3 separate regions of the Homo sapiens genome follow, and all the other regions are linked to region 3. The links are contacts of gene promoters, found by promoter capture Hi-C in human tissues and cell types (Jung and others, 2019). All regions are on one chromosome and are shown on one strand. Each heading gives the region's core, a stretch centred on a gene start or on the middle of the fragment in contact. The rest is flanking DNA. Distances are from core to core; before and after follow the strand shown. Region 1 holds the start of PDGFB (platelet derived growth factor subunit B). Region 2 overlaps LOC105373032 (a long non-coding RNA gene). Region 3 holds the start of APOBEC3H (apolipoprotein B mRNA editing enzyme catalytic subunit 3H).

Region 1 (4,625 bases), core at 2,126-4,625, 150 kb before region 3:
CAGCCTGGCAGGAGGCAGACGATCAGGTGTTATTAAAAAAAAATTTTTAGGCTGGGTGTGGTGGTTCATGCCTGTAATCCCAGCACTTCGGGAGGCTGAGTGGGGCAGATCACTTGAGGTCAGGAGATCGAGAGCACCCTGGTCAACATGGTGAAACCGTCTCTACTAAAAATACAAAAATTAGCTGGGCATGGTGGCAGGCGCCTGTGGTCTCAGCTACTCGGGAGGCTGAGGCAGGAGAATCGCTTGAACCTGGGAGGCAGAGGTTGCAGTGAGAAGAGATCGCACCACGGCACTCCAGCCTCGGCGACAGACCGAGACCCCGTCTCTGAGATGGCTCACTGCAGTCTTGAACTCCTGGGCTCAGGGGATTCTCCCTCCTGACTCAGCCTCCTGAGTAGCTGGGGCCACACTCAGATATATATATATATATATATATATATATATATATATATATATATATATATTTTTTTTTTTTTTTTTTTTTTTTTTTGGTAATTTTTTTTAAGAGATGGGATCTCGCTATGTTGCTGAGGCTGGTCTCGAACTCCTGGCTGCACATGATCCTCTGGCCTCAGCCTCCCAAATTGCTGGGAATACAGGGGTGAGCCACCGTGCCTGGGGAGGTGTTCTTTACAGACTGTTCCTCTGCACAGAGAAGGTACAAGAAAGGAGCCCTTAGCACAACATTCAGGCCCAGGTGTCACGCAGGTGTCACGTAGCATTCAGGCCCAGGTGTCTGCTGGGCCCTCTTCTGCCACTTCTAACCCATGTACTGGCACCTGCACTGCAATGATTTGGGTCTATCTCACTGAGAGCATGGGAAGTCCCTGAGTGCCGAGGCTGGGACTCCTTCCTCATTCCATTTCTCAGCGCTTCACACAGGGTCTGCAAACAGTAGGCGTTCTACGATGCTGCTCTGAGTAGCCTTCCCTCTCCCTCAACTTGTACCTAAGTCAGAGTTCATATGGGTCCATCACTTTTTAGCTGGCAGAGCAGGTTCCCACATATTAATGCATGTGGCGCTCACCAAAGCGCTGTGTCAAAAGTGTCATCATTGTCATCAGCATCACCTGCCAGAAAATTGCACAGCACGGTGGTCTCAGCATGTGGGCTCTGTAGCTGGACTGCTCAGATTCAAGTCCTGGCCTTACCACTTACGGGCTGTGTGACCTTGAACAAGTGTATTGGCCTCTCTGTGCTTCCATTTCCCCATCTGTAAGATAGGAATAACACATCTCACAGGAGCATGGAGAGGCTACAGGTAGAGTAAGAAAAACACTAGCTACCACATAGTCAGCTCACTAATCATGGTAGTTGTTACCATTCTATTTATAGAAGACACAGAAGGTCAAGGTCAAATGACCCAGCTGTCCGGTGGAAGAGGGTTTTTATCTCTGAGTCGTTAGACTTCAAATCTAGTGTTTGGGGGTTATCTCCTCGTCCCGCTGCCCCATCTCCCTTGTCACCCTGTCTCCTAATTTATCTGTTTATACATCTGGTTGTCCTTCTCAATGGGGCTCTTCAAAGGCAGGGGCCTGCATTAGGCTGGTTCACACCTGTCTCCCCAGTGCCTGGAGCAGTGCGGGGCCACCAGTGAACTTGAAGGCTGCATGGAAGGTTCCAGGCGCTTGCTTCCTGCTAAGGTGTTTTGCTGAGCGCCTCCACATGGAGGACCTCATGGGAGCCTCCAGACCACTCCAGGAGCAGGGTAAAAATTCTCTACAACTGCACTGAGGTACAACAAACTGCACACATTTTGTTGTGATGTACGTATACACCCATAAGCCCATCACCACAATCAAAAATGACAAACATTTCCATCACCACTAAAATTTTGCCATGCCTCTCTGTTCTCTCTCACTCCTTCCCATTATAGATTTATTTTTATTTCTTTAGAGATAGGGTCTTGCTCTGTTGCCCAGGCTGGAGTGCAGTGGCACAGTCACAACTCACTGCAGCCTCAAACTCCTGGGCTCAAAACGATCCACAGTCTCCTGAGTAGCTGGGACTACAGGAGCTTGTTACCACACCCAGCTCCAGTTTATAAATTCATCTCCAGTTTATAAAGGAGGAAACCGAGGTACTGAGAGGTTAAAAAACCTTCCTGCAGACACTTGTCCAGCAAGTGGCCACTCCAGGATTTGGACCAAGGTGATGTGTCTTCAGGCTGTGTCTCTGCCACTGTGCCACGCTGCTGGGTGGTAGGCAGCAGTGGGTGGGTGCCTGCAGTGGTCTGTAAAGACCACCTGAGATGTCCTTCCTCCTCTGTTCCACCCTGTCCAGGTCCAAGAAGACAGTCTATGAAGAGAGAGCAGGTGTGACTCTCTCAGTGTGCTCCTCTGTGAGAAGCAGGCTGACATCCCAAAGGGAAGGGCGGATAACAGAGACAGTGCAAGCGGAGGAGATGAGGGTGCCTCAAAGCCGGGAGGCTGGGTGATGCAGGAGCCTGCGTGTCCCGAGGGGGGTGCTGGGCCCAGTGTGAGTACGTGTGACTGTGACTGAGACAGTGTGACTGCTGAAGGCAGGGACACAGCAGCTCCCTGACTGGGGGCAGAAGGCGTTAACTGTGTGAAGGCTGGTTGTGGGTGGGTGGGCTCTGGGCCTCGAACCCGGGGGCTGAGGGAGATAGTAAACAGCAGGGTGACTGACGGGAAGATCATGTTGGTAGCCCTGCGAAGATGCTGCAGGGCTGTGGGGGTTTGTGTGACTTTGCAGTTCAACAAATTCAAATTCAGCCAACGCTGGCAGGGCCTGTTGTGCCAGGCAACCAGCTAGGAGGAGGAGACTCGGACCCAGCTTGCAGCTGAAGGGCGCTGGCTGCCGGGTTCTGTGGGTTCACCTTGCGGTGTCTTCCCTTGCTAACACTGAGTCCTTACAATAGCCCCATCTCCAGGTTGAGGCTAGATGGAGGGGACAGAGGGAAGTGACTTGCCCAAGGTGACCCAAGCTCCCGAGTGCCAGGGCAGGATCTGAATTCAGGCTCTCAGACTGCAGAGCCTGAGTCCCTCCCTGCCATGCCTGTGCCAGGGTGGAAATGTCTGGTCCTGGAGGGGAGCGTGGACTCCTGGCCTTGGCTCTGGAGACATCCCCCTAGACCACGTGGGCTCCTAACCTGTCCATGGTCACTGTGCTGAGGGGCGGGACGGTGGGTCACCCCTAGTTCTTTTTTCCCCAGGGCCAGATTCATGGACTGAAGGGTTGCTCGGCTCTCAGAGACCCCCTAAGCGCCCCGCCCTGGCCCCAAGCCCTCCCCCAGCTCCCGCGTCCCCCCCCTCCTGGCGCTGACTCCGGGCCAGAAGAGGAAAGGCTGTCTCCACCCACCTCTCGCACTCTCCCTTCTCCTTTATAAAGGCCGGAACAGCTGAAAGGGTGGCAACTTCTCCTCCTGCAGCCGGGAGCGGCCTGCCTGCCTCCCTGCGCACCCGCAGCCTCCCCCGCTGCCTCCCTAGGGCTCCCCTCCGGCCGCCAGCGCCCATTTTTCATTCCCTAGATAGAGATACTTTGCGCGCACACACATACATACGCGCGCAAAAAGGAAAAAAAAAAAAAAAAGCCCACCCTCCAGCCTCGCTGCAAAGAGAAAACCGGAGCAGCCGCAGCTCGCAGCTCGCAGCTCGCAGCCCGCAGCCCGCAGAGGACGCCCAGAGCGGCGAGCGGGCGGGCAGACGGACCGACGGACTCGCGCCGCGTCCACCTGTCGGCCGGGCCCAGCCGAGCGCGCAGCGGGCACGCCGCGCGCGCGGAGCAGCCGTGCCCGCCGCCCGGGCCCCGCGCCAGGGCGCACACGCTCCCGCCCCCCTACCCGGCCCGGGCGGGAGTTTGCACCTCTCCCTGCCCGGGTGCTCGAGCTGCCGTTGCAAAGCCAACTTTGGAAAAAGTTTTTTGGGGGAGACTTGGGCCTTGAGGTGCCCAGCTCCGCGCTTTCCGATTTTGGGGGCCTTTCCAGAAAATGTTGCAAAAAAGCTAAGCCGGCGGGCAGAGGAAAACGCCTGTAGCCGGCGAGTGAAGACGAACCATCGACTGCCGTGTTCCTTTTCCTCTTGGAGGTTGGAGTCCCCTGGGCGCCCCCACACGGCTAGACGCCTCGGCTGGTTCGCGACGCAGCCCCCCGGCCGTGGATGCTCACTCGGGCTCGGGATCCGCCCAGGTAGCGGCCTCGGACCCAGGTCCTGCGCCCAGGTCCTCCCCTGCCCCCCAGCGACGGAGCCGGGGCCGGGGGCGGCGGCGCCCGGGGGCCATGCGGGTGAGCCGCGGCTGCAGAGGCCTGAGCGCCTGATCGCCGCGGACCCGAGCCGAGCCCACCCCCCTCCCCAGCCCCCCACCCTGGCCGCGGGGGCGGCGCGCTCGATCTACGCGTCCGGGGCCCCGCGGGGCCGGGCCCGGAGTCGGCATGAATCGCTGCTGGGCGCTCTTCCTGTCTCTCTGCTGCTACCTGCGTCTGGTCAGCGCCGAGGTGAGTTGCCACGGCGGCTGGGGCTGGTTCTTCATTCATTACCTTCGCCCCCCCCTTCTGACCGCCCCCTCCTCTCCCTGCAGTGAACTTTGGACCCTTGCAGCCCGCGAGCCTGACGCCGGGCGCTGGGTGACCTCTTCGGGCTGGGAGCGAGGTCCGGGGGTGACAG
Region 2 (4,424 bases), core at 677-3,176, 180 kb after region 3:
AAGGAGAGAAGGGAGGGAGGGAAGAAAGGAGGAGGGAGGAGAGGAAGGAGGAAGGGAGGGAGAGAGAGGAAGAAAGAAATGAAGATCTCATGGATATGAGAACATAATTAATGTTTCAAACACTCTCTTTAAATTTAAAATCATTGATGAAACTCTACTTTTTTTTGAATTACAATTGATGATCTATGAATGTGCCAAATGCCCATTCAGTGGTCTGTGGTGTGAAACGTTGAGAAAGGATGCCTCGAGATGCTTCTAACACCTAAAAATACCCCTTGCAGGCCAGCTGTGGTGGCTCATGCCTGTAATCCCAGCACTTTGGGAGGCCGAGACAGGCGGATCACTTGAGGTCAGGAATTTGAGACCAGCCTGGCCGACATGGTGAAACCCCGTCTCTACTAAAATACAAAAATTAGCCTTGCATGGTGGTGTGCCCCTGTAGTCCCAGCTACTTGGGAGGCTGAGGCATGAGAATCACTTGAACCTGGGAGGCGGAGGTTGCAGTGAGCCGAGATCACGCCATTGCACTCCAGCCTGGGCAACAAGAGTGAAACTCTGACTCAAAGGGTCATGGACCCTTTGCAGATCCATGTTCTCCTAAGTAGCAAATACTTAGGCAATTATTACAAATGAATTCCCCTAATAAAACTCTCCTCCCACCTCCTCCTCACAGGACATGGAGTCAGTGCATGGCAGGGAGAGAGCTGGGAGCGTCAGGCCAGGCTTTCCACTGCGGTGTCTTTCTGGGTGTCAGCTGCACCACTGTCCTGAACTCTGTGCTGACCGGGCACTAGTCTGGTGTTTGAGACCACAGTGGGGACAGCACCAGCCCCACGTCGTTGGCGCTGTCTACAGGCTGTCCCCACCAAGGCAGCCCCTCTCTCTGCCCGGTCCTCTGTGGCTCTGCTTCTCCTTCAGCTCCTTCATCCTACCCCCTTGTCAGTCTGGTTTCTCTGTTTGTACAAGGATTTGACACCTGTCCCAAAAGGGCACCCTCAGCTCTGGGTCTCCTCACCTTCCAGGTCTGACAGCCAAGGCTAACCTATGATAACCACTGGTTCTCGATTCTAAATCTCCAGAAGAGAGAATCTGATTTGTGCAGCCTGCATCAGGCATCCACTCCTGGACCAACCAGGAAGCCTACGGGGCCCACCAGTGTGGGTAATATGAGAAACATGCTCACCTGTCCAAACCCAAAGGATGAACTTAGAGACATAGAGAATTGCAGAGGTGAGACTTGTGTTGTTGTTGTTGTTTTGTTTTTGTTTTGTTTTGTGACAGAGTTTCACTCTTGTCACTCAGGCTGGAGTGCAATGGTTCCATCTCGGCTCACCGCAACCTCCGCCTCCTGGGTTCAAGTGATTCTCCTGCCTTAGCCTCCCGAGTAGCTGGGATTACAGGCATGCACCACCATGCCCAGCTAATTTTGTAGGTTTTTTCTTTGTTTTTGTTTTTTTTTAGTAGAGATGGGGGTTTCTCCATGTTAGTCAGGCTGGTCTTGAACTCCCGACTTCAGGGGATCTGCCTGCCTTGGCCTCCCAAAGTCTGGGATTACAGGCATGAGCCACTGCGCCCAGCCAGAAGTGAGACTTTTAATGACAGTCTTGCAAGATCTGGTGTCTGGTAGGCAGGCACACCCAGTACAGTTACAACAAGCAATGTATCCCCTAGTAGGCAAGTCCCTCCCCCGGTTCCTCATAGGCTGAGTACCATGGGGTCACCATCTTCCCAGACATCACCTATTGGTCGTTGGGTTGGGGCTTTTAGGTGTTTACTTTAGGGTTGTCTCGCTGCAGTTTGTTGTGGCCCATAATGCACTGCAATCATAGTCAGCTAAGGTGCTCTTCAAGTATTTGACTTATGACCCAGGTGGCCAGGCAAGCTGATAAGAATAGATAAAGTGAGCTATTTTTCAGGCTAGTAAACTTTCATTCTAGACTAAACGCTTTGCTTTGGGTGGGGGTAACTAAGGGGGCCCTGACCAGCAGGGGTCTAGTATATCCTGTCCATCCGCAGGTTGTGGGCCCAAGCCTATTTGAGGCACTTTGCCTTGGAAATGGGCCACCGTAGACATTATTTCCTACAGTAGGAGAGAAGCTTGAAGCAAAGGGGACATTGACTCCGTAAGTACTTTAAAGCATGTCTACAAATCCTTTGAAAGACATCCTGACATCCTCCAAACGTACCTTGTGAAGACGGCTCATAAGGGCAACGCAGCCTAGATGGAGCAACAGGTGGACAGTCTCAAGCCGACCGTGCAGAATTAGGAAAAGCCCCAGCAGACCAGAAAAATCTCCATTCCCTGGTGACATGGGGAGAAAGCTGGCCTGACATGGCTCCAGAGCTGGCAGCACCTCTGGGTCCTGATAGAAGTCTGGGTGGCTGCCAAGCTGAGTCATCCAGGAGCTAAGGGAAACGACCTACCTGTAGCTAAGACCAAGCCTCACACCCCATCACCTGGGCTGGATCTTGTTCTCCTGCCAGATCTGTCGTATCTTTATTGGCTCTCCCAGTGACGGCTTCTGTGGTTGGAAATCATTCATTAGTTTTGCTGCCTGAAACTGAACCATAAATGAGGCACTGAGACAGGGGAAAAGCCTGGTCCATGTCGAGATCTGAGCTCAACCCTAGACCTAAGCTCCTGACTCCATACCCTGATTAGCAACAGCTGCCATCACAAAACCAATTTTTTTTTTTTGAATTTCGCTCTTTTTGCCCAGGCTGGAGTGCAATGGTGCAATCTCAGCTCACTGCAACCTCTGCCTCCTGGGTTCAAGCGATTCTCTTGCCTCAGCCTCCTGAGTAGCTGGGATTACAAGCACATGACACCATGCCCACCTAATTTTGTATTTTTAGTAGAGCCAGGGTTTCACCATGTTGGCCAGACTGGTCTCGAACTCTTGACCTCAGGTGATCCGCCCGCCTCGGCCTCCCAAGGTAGTGGGATTACAGGCATGAGCCACCATGCCCAGCAGACAAAACTAACTTTCTAAGCTTTTAACATGACCCTCAGACATTAACCAAGATGCTTGTCTAGACCACAAGCCCATTTTTCTTTTGTAGAATTTGCATTTCTCTCCTTGCATAAGAAGGAAGTATCCAGTGATGGTGAGAAAAACATGGGATCAGCAAGACCTGGGTTCGAGCCCTAGATTCCCCACTTAGGAGCCACAGAGTCTCACTCAGGAGGCTCACTTCTATGAGGCTGAATCTTGATTGGGAAATTTGTGATAAATCTCCTATGAGAATTAAGTGAAAGACCCTAATATCAAATGCCTGACACATACTTGGACCTCAAATTTGAGCCCTTTTGCTCTCCTTAGAGGAGGGATGAAAGCATAACTTATCCTGAGTGCAGATGCACCTCATTTAATTGGGATTCACTTTACTGAGTCACAGATGCTGTGTTTTTTTTTACACATGGAAGGTTTTTGGCAACCCTGCATCGAGCAAGTGTATTGGCATGATTTTCCCAACAGTAGGTACTCACTTTCAGGTCTCTGTGTCACATCGGTAAATTCCCACAATATTTCAGACTTTTTCATTATTATTATATCTGTTACAGGGATCTGTGATCAGTGTCTTTGATGTTACCACTGTAATTGTTTTCAGGCATCACAAACCACACCCACATAAGACAGCAAACTTAGTTGATAAATGTTGTGTGTGTTCTGACTGCTCCACCAACAGCTGTTCCCCATCTCTCTCCCTCTGCCCTGGCCTCCCTATTCTCTGAGATGTAACAATATTGAATTTAGGCCAATTAATAACCCTACAATGGCCTCTCAGTGTTCAAGTGAAAGGAACTGTCACATATCTCTTGCTTTCAATCAAAAGCTAGAAATGATTAGGCTTAATGAGGAAGGAATGTCAAGAAACAAGATAGGCTGAAAGCTAGGCCTCTTCCACTATGCAGTTAGCCAAGTTGTGAATGCAAAGGAAAAGCCTTTGAAGGAAATTAAAAGTGCCACTCCAATGAGTACATGAATGATAAGAAAGTGAAACAGGCTTACTGCTGATATGGAGAAAGTTTGAGGGGTCTGGATAGAAGATCAAACCAGCCATGACATTCTCCTAAGCGAAAGCCTAATCCAGAGCAAGGCCCTAGCTCTCTTCAATTCTATGAAGGCTGAGAGAGGTGAGGAAGTTGCGGAAGAAAAGTCTGAAGCTAGCAGAGGTTGGTTCGTGAGATTTAAGGAAAGAAACTGTCTCCATAACATAAAAGTGCAAGGTGAAGCAGCAAGTGCTGATGGAGCAGCTGCAAGTTGTCCAGAAGATCTGGCTAAGATCATTGATTAAGGTGGCCATAGTGAACAACAGGTTTTCCATGTAGATGAAATAACCTTCTATTGAAAGAAGATGCCATCTAGAACTTTCATAGCTAGAGAGGGGAAGGCAATGCCTGGCTTTGAAGCTTCAAAGGA
Region 3 (4,326 bases), core at 1,077-3,576:
GCTGCTCACACGCCTCTGGCCTGAGTCCCAGATCCCTCTTTCCAGCTGCAGTTGGACACCCCCTCCTTGAGGTCCACAGGCCTCTCGACCCCTACATGTCCAATACCAGAACCCTTCCCCTTGGGGAGTGATGGGGTGGAAACTGGGGCTTCCTCCAGCACTGTGCTCTTTGCTCAGGTGTGTGTTTGACAAGTTTGTCTGCACAGAACACAGTTGAGTGAACAGAAAAGCTGTTGTCACCAAGGGAGTGTTGTGACACATTTTTGGCTGAAGAAATTACATAGATTTTGCTCTCCTGAATTGTGATTACATTCTACAGAGGATTCAATTTTGGATTTTGCTTTTTTTTTGTTTTTGAGAGAGAGTCTTGCTCTGTTGCCCAGGCTGGAGTGCAGTGGTCCAATCTCAGCTCACTGCAAGCTCCACCTACCAGGTTCAAGTGATTCTCCCGGGTTCAAGCAATTCTCCTGCCTCAGCCTCCCAAGTAGCTGGAATTACAAGCGCCCTCCTTCATGCCCGGCTAATTTTTGTATTTTTGTAGAGATGGAGTTTTACCATGTTGGCCAGGCTGGTCTTGAACTCCTTTGACCTCAGGTGATCCACCCACCTCGGCCTCCCAAAGTGCTGGGATTATAGGCGTGAGCCACCGCGCCCCGCCAGGATTGTGACCCATGCGCTCACCTCCTGTCTCCCCGAGGGCCTGAGCTCCTTTTCTTTGGCCTGTCTGATTGATGGTTGCCCATCTACTTTCTATTCTGCTTTCTGGAAAACCCCTGAGCATTTCAAGCCTCCAAGTCCTGAGAATTTCTGCAGCTTTCCCAAGCAGGAAGACCAGGGAGAGGAGAAGAGAAGGAGATGCTGGCAGGGGCAGCAGGGCCGGGGTGACCTCTCCCAGCTCAGGGCCCTAGCTCTGGTCTTTCCAGGGATGGATCTCCCATCCTCCCAGTATTTCTGCCACCCATCCTCTAACCCATTAAAAATAAGAAAAGTGAATAAAATTCTCCCCTTCAAAATAAGAGCTCTTAATATTTCAGTTCAATTAATTCCTGGCATTTTACCTATTCATGTTATTTTATTTTATTTTTTTAGTTTTAGTAGATAAGGGGGTCTCCCTGTGTTGCCCAGGCTGGTTTGGAACTCCTGGCCTTTAGTGATGATCCTCCCCTCTCAGCTTCCCAAAGTGTTGGGATTACAGGCATGAGCCATTTTGCCTGGCCAGGCAGGAAAATGGCGTGAACCCAGGAGGTGGAGCTTGTAGTGAGCCGAGATTGCGCTCCAGCCTGGGCAACAGACTGAGACACCCCTTCTCAAAAAAACAAAACGAAACAAAAAATCAGGGTAGCACTTCCATCCCCAGGCCCAGGCCACTCTTCTAAGTGCTGAGAGGATCTGAGCTCACGTGAGGCTGCCCTAGGCCTGCAGGGGCCATTCTCATCTTACAGAGGAGGGGCCAGAGGTGCAGAGAGGTGGGGTAACCTGCCCAGGCCATGGAGCTGGGCCACTTTCCTGGCCAGCCCTGCCAGCCTCTGCATCACGGGCCCTGCAGGAGGGAGCCTTTGGGAACCAGGCTCTCTTCTTCCTAAATTTTAAAATAAAAGCATTTCTCCTGATCATTGAGTTTTTCCGTATATTCCGTGTTACTGGTGTCATTATAAACGGTGAATGTGAATACTGATCATGGAGGAGGAGTGTGTGTTCAGGGTCATCTGCATCCTCCTCTGCCCACAGTGGAGACATCCTTGGAAGAGATGATTTGCCTTGTGCTTCAGAGATCATTGCCTCCCCACACCCTCTCCTAAGACTTTGTATTGAAACAAAGTAATCTTACACAAAGTTCATCAAAGCACTGTGAACAAAATTCCAGATTGCTCCCATCATCCTTTAGTTCAGTTCTCCCAGTTCCAGAGCCCAGGAATGGCAGGAAGCACACAGAGAGAGCACCCTCCCAAGGTGGGGAGCACTAGCCCAGCCATGACTCTTAGGGGAGAGTCTCAGCAGGGGTCTTGGGCTGGTGCAGGCCGGGGAGGCGGCCCGTTCAGAAGCAGCAGTGGGGTGACCACACAGCAGGGCAAAGAGCCTGGGTGGGAGTGGGGATGGCAGGGGAGCCAGAGGAGAAGGAGCCCAGGGCTGGGGCTGGGGCAGCGGGAGGCCAGGGCTGAGGCACAGAAGGGCTGCCAGGCAGGAAGTGGCAGCAGAGGGCCCAGTGGACAGAGTGGGCGGCAGTACCTGATCTGTGCTTCTGGCCACAGCTTCCTTAGCAGACTTGCCCCTGCTTGTCTGAGGCACTAAGTTTCACTTTTGGCAGCTCTCCCAAAAGTCACAAAAGGTCAGCTCTCCCAAAAGTCACAAAAAGTCACTGCTTGATGAGGGTGGCTCCACCCTCTTCCTTTTGTGGGACTGGAGTGGGAGGGCCCTGGGGTGCTTCAGATCCCTCAGGCTCCTTTCTTTCTCTATTTCCTCGGGCTTGGCAGGGGAAGTCTGATGGAGGTGGCTCACCTCCCATCCTCCCACCCCCAATTCCCTCTCCAGGTACAGCCAGACTCAACTCCCTCCCCAGGTATAGTTTACAAAAGAACAAAGGCCAGATGCGGTGGCTCACACCTGTAATCCGAACACTTTGGGAGGCTGAGGTGGGCAAATTACAAGGTAAGGAGATGAAGACCATCCTGGCCAACATGGTGAAACCCCGTCTCTGCTAAAATACAAAAAATTAGCCAGGTTTGGTGGCCTGCGCCTGTAGTTCCAGCTGCTTGGGAGGCTGAGGCAGGGAAATTGCTTGAACCTTGGAGGCAGAGGTTGCAGTGAGCCGACGTCGCACCACTGCACTCCACCCTGGCAACAGAACGAGACCCTGTCTCAAAAAATAAATAAATAAATAAAAATAAAAAAGAAAGAAAAAAGAAAGGAATTGATGGCTGGTCACGGTGCCTGTTATCCCAGCACTTTGGGAGGCTGAGGCAGGTGGATTGCCTGAAGTCAGGAGTTCAAAATCAACCTGGCCAACCGCACTCCAGCCTGGGCAATAAGAACAAAACTCCGTCTCAAAAACTAAACTAAACTAAAATAAATGAAAGGAATAGAAGCCACAGAAAGGAGCAGGGATCCAGACCAGGGCTGACACCATAGACCAGATGCCACTCCCCTGGTGGACAGGGCAGGCTGCAGCCCCCTCCCCACCACCCCACTGACCTTTGGCATTCAGCCTCCTGGCAGGACCCTGAGCCTGATGTGAAATGAGCACTGGGGTCAGGCTCAGGACTGCATCTCCAGCGGATCCAGTGCCCATTATCTAGCCCAGTCCCCAGATAGCACTGGGAGGGGAGGGCAGTGATCCTGACAGTCAGAGGAGGTCCCAAGCACAGAGAGGCTAAGATACTGTCCCCACGTCACACAGCAAATCAACAGCAGAGCTGGAGTGCTGGCCAGGACTTCCTGTGTCCCTTCTCCCCCACAGCTAGCTACTTTGAGGTTCTTCATTGCTCCATGGAAAGGAGCAGGAGAGGAGACACGAGGGAGGGGACTTACTGCTCCTAAAGGGCCTCCCAGGTCAGAGATGAAGGACCTGGACTTCACATTTGCATTCTGGAACCCATGTCCTCGTCTTCATGCATATCAACCAACACCCTTCAGATCATAAACACCAAAGAGCCAGGCCAGGTGCTGTGGCTCACGCCTGTAATCCCAGCACTTCGGGAGGCTCAGGCAGGCTGATGACCTGAGGTCAGGAGTTCGAGACCAGCCTGGGCAACACGGTGAAACCTCGTCTCTACTAAAAATACAAAAATTAGCCAGGCGTGGTGGCGGGCATCTGTAATCCCAGCTACTCAGGAGTCTGAAGCAGGGGAATCATTCGAACCTGGGAGGCAGAGGTTGCAGCGAGCCGAGATTGTGCCACTGCACTCTAGCCTGGTCGACAAGAACGGGACTCTGTCTAAAAGAAAAGAAAAAGAAAAACCAAAGAACCCCTAGGAAAGTTGAATCCCAAGGGCGAGGACTAGGGGCAGTCACTGCGGAGTCTAGGTTCCACACCAAGGAGTCCCATTGAACCTTGCCCAGCTTGTCCCTCCATATCCTCCCGCCCTGCACACCCTGACAGCCCTCTAGACCCTGCATGGCCCCTGGGGTCACAGGAGCTTGGGTGAGAATTTAGAAGGTTCCTGGGAATGGCATCCCCTCCACCCTATCTGTCCTAAATGTTGGGGCTACAGTCCATGGAAGATTCCAGAATGAGCGGGGTCCTGCCAGGAGAGACATCAGATCTGCACACTGTAGTGCTGGTTAATCACAGAGCTGAGTCTCCCAGGCTGAGAAGCAGGGAGGATGGAA

Evidence for each region. Contacts are between HindIII fragments. The study calls those that stand out against the background at their distance.
Region 1: the fragment with the promoter of PDGFB here is called in contact with the fragment with the promoter of APOBEC3H in region 3 in 2 of the 25 tissues and cell types used here (mesendoderm cells and thymus).
Region 2: a contact is called between a fragment that was not itself captured here and the fragment with the promoter of APOBEC3H in region 3, in 2 of the 25 tissues and cell types used here (spleen and stomach).

The regions. Positions count from the first base shown.
Region 1 is chr22:39,243,732-39,248,356 of GRCh38, reverse strand. It overlaps PDGFB (platelet derived growth factor subunit B), which reads left to right and starts at 3,375. Exons shown (of 7, transcript NM_002608.4): 1 at 3,375-4,456. The coding sequence starts at 4,394. The HindIII fragment of the contact is 11,810 bases long and covers 1-4,625 here.
Region 2 is chr22:38,919,313-38,923,736 of GRCh38, reverse strand. It overlaps LOC105373032 (a long non-coding RNA gene), which reads right to left. Exons shown (of 3, transcript XR_938256.2): 2 at 2,187-2,561. Among named protein-coding and RNA genes, the nearest start is that of APOBEC3A, 36 kb to the left of the region's middle. The HindIII fragment of the contact is 3,556 bases long and covers 149-3,704 here.
Region 3 is chr22:39,095,244-39,099,569 of GRCh38, reverse strand. It overlaps APOBEC3H (apolipoprotein B mRNA editing enzyme catalytic subunit 3H), which reads right to left and starts at 2,326. Exons shown (of 5, transcript NM_181773.5): 1 at 2,227-2,326. RefSeq lists enhancers at 908-1,794, 2,125-2,464, 1,795-2,682, 2,005-3,204. The HindIII fragment of the contact is 18,686 bases long and covers 1-4,326 here.